Regions from separate parts of the Homo sapiens genome. Here region 2 is linked to region 1. Evidence: promoter capture Hi-C in human tissues and cell types (Jung and others, 2019). All regions are on one chromosome and are shown on one strand. Each heading gives the region's core, a stretch centred on a gene start or on the middle of the fragment in contact. The rest is flanking DNA. Distances are from core to core; before and after follow the strand shown.

The links. Contacts are between HindIII fragments. The study calls those that stand out against the background at their distance.
Region 2: a fragment that was not itself captured here is called in contact with the fragment with the promoter of MROH2B in region 1 in 2 of the 25 tissues and cell types used here (dorsolateral prefrontal cortex and stomach).

The regions. Positions count from the first base shown.
Region 1 is chr5:41,069,621-41,073,065 of GRCh38, reverse strand. It overlaps MROH2B (maestro heat like repeat family member 2B), which reads left to right and starts at 1,724. Exons shown (of 42, transcript NM_173489.5): 1 at 1,724-2,241; 2 at 3,314-3,375. The coding sequence starts at 2,214. It overlaps LOC105374739 (a long non-coding RNA gene), which reads right to left and starts at 1,709. Exons shown (of 6, transcript XR_001742650.2): 1 at 1,138-1,709. The HindIII fragment of the contact is 9,443 bases long and covers 1-3,445 here.
Region 2 is chr5:41,352,671-41,356,115 of GRCh38, reverse strand. The region is part of intron 2 of PLCXD3 (phosphatidylinositol specific phospholipase C X domain containing 3); the gene reads left to right. Among named protein-coding and RNA genes, the nearest start is that of C6, 140 kb to the right of the region's middle. The HindIII fragment of the contact is 3,710 bases long and covers 1-3,445 here.

The sequences.
Region 1 (3,445 bases), core at 475-2,974:
GTATTATTTCTATGTATCTATTCTTCTTTAGCTTTATATTTTACCTTTACTGCCTTATTAATATTTTTGTCTGATAACATCATGTGGGAACATAGTAGGCCTGGGATTGGGTAGCTTCATTTGACAAGTTACATTGAAAGGGGATGGCTACCACATATCCAGTGAGACACTCTAATTCCTTAGCAGGCTAGATTTAGGCTCCCTCACAAATATCTAGAAACAGTACTTAATTAGTTAGCACATGCCATCCTATTCACTTTGAGAATTCGTGTTTAGGATCCTCTTAGAGTCTTAGAGAAATCAAATCCATATTGTGTTAGCCTCATGCAATGAGAAGAGGAAGAAATAATGGGAAGATGTAACAAGCAGGCGACTGAAAAATGAAATAAAATGACAGCAAATCAGCTATTTTGAGGATTTGGGGATTTTAAAACTATCTGCAGTATTGGTTTCAATGAGTGAATTTACTTTGTCTGAAAGGATTTTAGCAAAAAGTTGTGTTTTGATTGCAGCGATGAATAAATTAAAAGTCAAAATAAATCAATTATCTCCTAACTTCTCTAATCTCTATGAAATCAAGGAAGTCTTTATATACAGACATACAGAAAAATCATTTGTCACCATTCACAAAAATATTAAGAAAATGGTTGTAACAATTACCTAAATGGCTAGCTTTCTTATTATTGATTCTGCTGTACATTGTTTTTTAAGACTCTAAGAGCACATAATTTCTAACATCATTTTTTCCCTTATAGGGAATCTGTTGTTTTATTTACTACAAGTAGACTTAACATCTTATAGATGTTAAGAGTTTCGGGATGCCTCTAATCACCCCAGTACCTCCCTGACTAACCAAACTTGGCCTATTCTTCAGTGAGTCATGATGCTGGGGAAGAGCTCCTTGCCCAACCACAACAAACATTCTTCAGTTAACTGCTATTTACTGATCCACTAATGAATGTTTGGGCAAGGACCTTGGTCAGTGCTTTTCAAAGTTCAGTGAACCTAAGAATCACCAGGGGCGCACATTAAATATATAGATTGCTGCCCCCTCATTCTAATTTACTGGGTCTGAAGTGGGGCCTGGGAATTCACATTTTAAATAAGGATACCAAGTAAATCCCATGATAAAGTCACCTGGAGACAAAACTCTGAAAGTGATGCTGACTTGGGAAGCGGAAAATGTTGAGGATCTCTTTAATACAGTGCAAAATGTCTATGAGAAGAATGATGAATTCAAAGGTTTAGTTGGAAGCAGTTGACCTTTGAATCTGGAATAAGCTTCACCGATGAAGTTAAGATGGCCAAAAAAGCAGCAGCAGATGAAAATTGTCATGAGCTCCCCTCCTCAGCCCATTCTACATTTAGCCCTATAGACTAGCAGTACTGCCTTCCCTTTCTCTATCATCCTCCATATTCACATAGAGTCTGGACATATATTGAAGATTGTCATCACATAGATTTATAGTTGGGGACCAGATTTCAATTCATGCTAGATAAGTTGAAAACATTATGGAAAATTGATCTAGATAAAAAATAATTTGAAAACAAAAAGAAAGCTGAAGACAGAGAAAAAGCCTGAGCCTGGAGTGAGGCCAAGATCCTGAACATGCCAGGGAGGAATTAATGGAGAGGGAGGTAGAGAGGTCTTCACTTTGCTGCTGTCAGTTGGACATTCCATCCAACTGCCCCTGAAGTGCATTCCAGTCCACTGAGCATGCTCAGTTCATATGACTGATTTTCACTAAGTGTAACAATCAACGAGTTCACCATAAAGCCTTTCCCAACATCAGGACAGTAAAGCAACTACTGAAAACCATTCCTGAATTTGTGATCAATGGACTCAAGTTTAGGGAGAGGAGCACCTTTGGTCTGCAACAATGGTTTGAATCCCAGTCTCTAATTACTTCTTTCCCAAATACTCTGGTCACCAAAGGGACAATATTTGGTGAGATGCAGCCATTTTGTTGGTTAGCAGGAGTTCAGACGCAAGACAATGTCATAGTGGTAGAATACAGTATCAACTTCAACAGCAAGCCCATCTCTGGAAGCTCCCAGACCATTGTGCCAATCAAGTGGAGGAGGCACTTTCATTTAGAGAGGCTTATGTGAACCTTATATGAGAAACTTGCCAACCTGCCTCTTTGATTTTTTAGCCTTACTATTTCTAATACTTAGGTGCTATCTTTTAGAGACCCTGAAACAGCCAAGACATGACACTTAGTACAGAGGAATCCATAGGTAAGCATCATCAGATCCTGAGAAGCCAAGGCTCTTCCCTGTGTTTTGTTTCTGTGGAATTATAAGTATATATGAGGGCTGGGAGTGGCGCGTCATTGTGGGAGGACTGTACACCTCAAAGGATTTATGAAATGGTATGCTAAATACATAATAAAATCATGCTGATTGTGAAGGACCAATAATAGACTGGAAGCCTAAGAGATGGTTGTGCTTTAAAATTTAGAGTCTACCTGAGGAGAAAGTGGCTACATATCAAAGAAAGGCAGTTTGTTATTTAATTTTAAATACTAGAAGAGTCCTTTGGAAGTATTTCTCCCAATTTCCAGGTATGGCTGCCTTTCTACTTTGCCAAAAAGATTGCCCTAAATGAGTATGTTGTTTGGTGTGGAGGTTAATAAGAAATCTTCATCTCCAAAAGTATTTCTCCTACCAACTTGCCATGTAGCTTGAAATTGCTCAATTCCTTTGACTCAATTTTTTTTCCAGTTTTCTAGAGTGCTTTATTCAAAAACATATATTCCTAGAAAATGCAAGTCAAACACATTTAGGTCATTGTCAGAAAACAGGAAGCCTTCATTAGCATGTGACCAAAAGAGGGAGTTGGCAGGCACAGGAGAATAGGTGGAGTTGAAAAGGGTATGGAAAAAGAAGATGGGAGAGGTATTGAGGGGAGGACCAGTGAAAAATAAACAGCTATGTTGCACCCCTGCCTTCTAATGCTTAAGTCAGGAGTGAGAAATTCACCTCATTGACTCTGAGAGCTAAATCCTGCAAGAGAGAATTTACAAGGCAATGCCCACTTGCCTGGAGGGATACATAGGAATCCGGCATCTTTTATCTTCCCTTTCACATTTGATTCAGGTTTCAAAAATAATAATAACTTAGCATCTGCTAGTTTCATTTATGTCATGGATATGAATAAAACAGTTCCTGCCATCAAAGAGCTAGCAGTCAAGGGAGAGAGAGAGAGAGAGGATAAATGAATGAATGAACTTTCTGTGTTGATTACAAAATAATTAACAGGAGGGCATTTCAGCATATATTTCAATTCATATTTTTCTGTACGTTTTAGAGATGTTTGGGGATATTAACCTCACTCTTGGCATGCTGAACAAGGAAGATATTGTTAACAAGGTAGGGAAAACAGAGAAAAATCTTTTTCCCTTTTTCAGTCTTCTTGTTGCAACATTTCGTATATATTTTT
Region 2 (3,445 bases), core at 356-2,855, 280 kb before region 1:
TTTTTGCATTTTTAGTAGAAACAGGGTTTTGCCATGTTAGGCAGGCTGGTCTCGAACTCCTGACCTCAGGCGATCCACACACCTCAGCCTCCCAATGATCATGGGTTTTTTTTAGAGAAGTTATTGGGTAACAAAGATAAATGGCCTGGTGGTATAAAAAATCATTTCATATAAGTTAAAGTTTAAGCCAAAGGAGGCCATTTGATGCCCAAAGGAAAAAAATATATACTCATGGGAAACTCATCTTTGATGGTGGTGAGCAGAAGTTATTTTCTTCTTCTCCTAATATCATCTTCATCTGTCCCAAACTTTAGCCTGACCAGCACTCCCCTGTGCCCACTCTTCATGGAATCACAAGTATGTTACATGCAACCCACTCTCGTGACTAGGGCAGCATGCATGGATAGAAGACATCATTTGGTGAATGAAGGCAATGCAAAGATGTTCATTTCCTTTAAACATATAAAGTCTGTGTCAAAGCAGTTACAAAAAAATCCCTAAGCATAGTCTTCCAGCTCCCCTAGCTGATATTGAGGTCCTCTCCAGGAGTAGCAGGGAAAGGGCTTGGATGGAGCATAAGTGGACATTGACAACTGATGGCTGACTGAGTTCATGAAAAGGGTGTGGCTTCAGGTTGAAACAGGAGCATAGGGGTTGGATTATGATATTATGGTTCTTACTTCAGACAAGTACTTATTGCCTAGAAAGATAATTATGCAAGCTGCAGTGTTCTGGAATGCATTATCTCTATTCTAGTTGGAAAAGTGTTGTTCTAAACACTTTGTAGTTCTTTGTAGCTCTGTCCATTTTATGATCTCCAAAGACAGAAGAATCATTCACATTCCATAATCCATCAGATTAGGAGATATGTTATGTAAAACTCCACGGGTATTTTCTGTCTGTCATATAATCAAGAGACTACCTATTTCTACACTCTTGGTAGACTAAGGCCTGGTATCAGTCTAGTGTTAAGGAAGGAGCAGGATGGTGGCACAGTGAGGTTTGTCTTGGAGTAAAGAGGAACAACTGGAGAAAGGGAAGCTTGATGTGTGTCTATATTCAGATGGAAGATTTTTCTTTAGTCATAGAAAACTACATGTTTTCTGTGGAGGTAAGACAGCATACCATTTGGGGAAACTTCAAGTGGCTTTGTGTGCTGTAATGTGGCATTTGGAATTAGTGCAAAAGATTAATCTAGAGAAAGAATAATGGTTCATATTATAAGGGGCCTTCCTTGGATTTCATGCTAAGAAATTTGAGGGTTTTCCTGAGAAGAGTGAAGACAAATTAAAGGATTTGAAGAATTTTATGCAGGGAACTAACATGATCAGATTTGGATTTAGACAAATCACTCTATCTACAGTTTAAAAAAATGAGTTTGAGTGAGACAATATTACAGGTAGGGAAACCAAAGAGGAGTTATCACACCAACATCCCCAAAGGAGCACGGGCTTCTATTTTTGCTACCCAGGATCTAGGTACATGATATAGTCAGTACATGTGTGTCATTGAATGAGGCTGTGGCAAGTAATTTAGATACCATATGACTATGGGCTAAACTGAGGTGTGGTCATAGGAATTGAAAAAAATGGACAGAGATTTAAAATATGTTAGTGAGGTAGAATCTAAAGGAGTTGAACAATTGGCTTGTTTTAGGGAAAGGGGAGGAAATGAGGAGTCAAAGAAAAAAAAGAGAGAAGCTTCTGGCTTAGGTCACTTCTGATGCCATTCACTGAAGTCAGAAACATTGGGCATAGAGCAAGTTGAGGGAGGGATGATGACCATTTGCTTCAAATATGAAGACTCTGAGAGGTTTGTAGGACATTCAGGTCCTGCTGATCATAAGTCTGCTTGGATAGAAGAGCCTGGTTCTCTAGCATCCAGAGAGAAGTCCGGGCTGCAAAAGTAGTTTGGGAGGTTGTAAATATCTAGCTGGGAATTAAAGCTATAGGAATATCATTGAGAGATAATTAGAATCCATAAAGGATTGGCTGGAACTCTGATAATCATCACATTTTAGGCTTGGGCAGAAGAAAAGTGGTTGCAAAAAAGCTGTGGGGCTACCAAAAGTTGGAAGAAAATAGAAAAAAGTCTAGAGGAAGTATGGATTCTCAGAAACCAGTGGAAGGTATTTCATGAAAAATGGGCACATATTCTAGGCACCAAAGATATAAAGATAAAAGAAACAGTTCTTATCTAGAGAAGTTCAAATTCTGGTGAGGCAGCTATCTGTAGTTCAGTAGAAAATTCAGAGTCATTGATACCCACAGTAGAGAAATAAGTTACTACTGGAGCCCAGAGAAAACGTGTCTCTACCACACCACCAACTCCTAAGTCTCCAACTAGAACAAACTCAGAAGAAAAGAATCCTGAACTATTGCTTCCCCAGTGAGTGATTTCATCACACAACGTAACTCCATATTTTACCTAATAATTCATTTATTATCTTTCTCCCTTCAATAAAAGCGAAGCTACACAAAGGCATGGATTTTTTTCTCTTTTGCTCACTCTTGTGTCTCCAGAGCCTAGAACAATTCCTGGCATATAGTAGATGCTCAATAAATATTTGTTGAATGAATAAAAATATCAAGCCTACATACATACAAGGTGTTTACTGACCTCAGACCATATCCCAGGAAATCCTACTTATATAAAACTCCTGATATGAATTTATTTTCTTGTGTTTTGCTTTTTCTCTTAAAAGCTGAGTGTGTAGGCAGGGCACGGTAGCCCACGCCTGTAATCCCAGCACGTTGGGAGGCCGAGGCGGGCAGATCATGAGGTCAGGAGATTGAGACCATCCTGGCAAACACAGTGAAACCCTGTCTCTACTGAAAAAAAAAAAAATACAGAAAATTAGCCGAGCATGGTGGCGGGCGCCTGTAATCCCAGCTACTCGGGAGGCTGAGTCAGGAGAATGGCATGAACCCGGGAGGTGGAGCTTGCAGTGAGCGGAGATCGCGCCACTGCACTCCAGCCTGGGCAACAGAGCGAGACTCTGTCTCAAAAAAAAAAAAAAAAAGCTGAGTGTGCAACATGTTGGTTTTGACTGAACATTCCAGTAGTTAAACCAAAAGTTCACTGTGCCATGAGGATTATTCAAACCTCTAGCAAACCTTCTTAGCCATGATAGGCACTGGCTTTAAATCATATGAGAAAGTCGTCATATTTTCTTGCTCTTTAAGATTTTTCACTAAGGAGATTGTCCTTCAAATAAGTCAAACCCTGGGAAGTATTCTACAATCAGTGATGACACAATGGGCCTTTCTTGTAATTAACTCCACTCTTTAGAACTCTCCTAGAAAATTACCTCAAACTTAAAAAAAAATTACTCAGCTACAAAGAGAATGATTTGTTAAAAAACCATTTGTCTCCCTGAACAAAGAATTTTTCAGCTGTTAAGAATTCTTCAGATGTGTATTTGTTTTATACTTGGATAACTAAG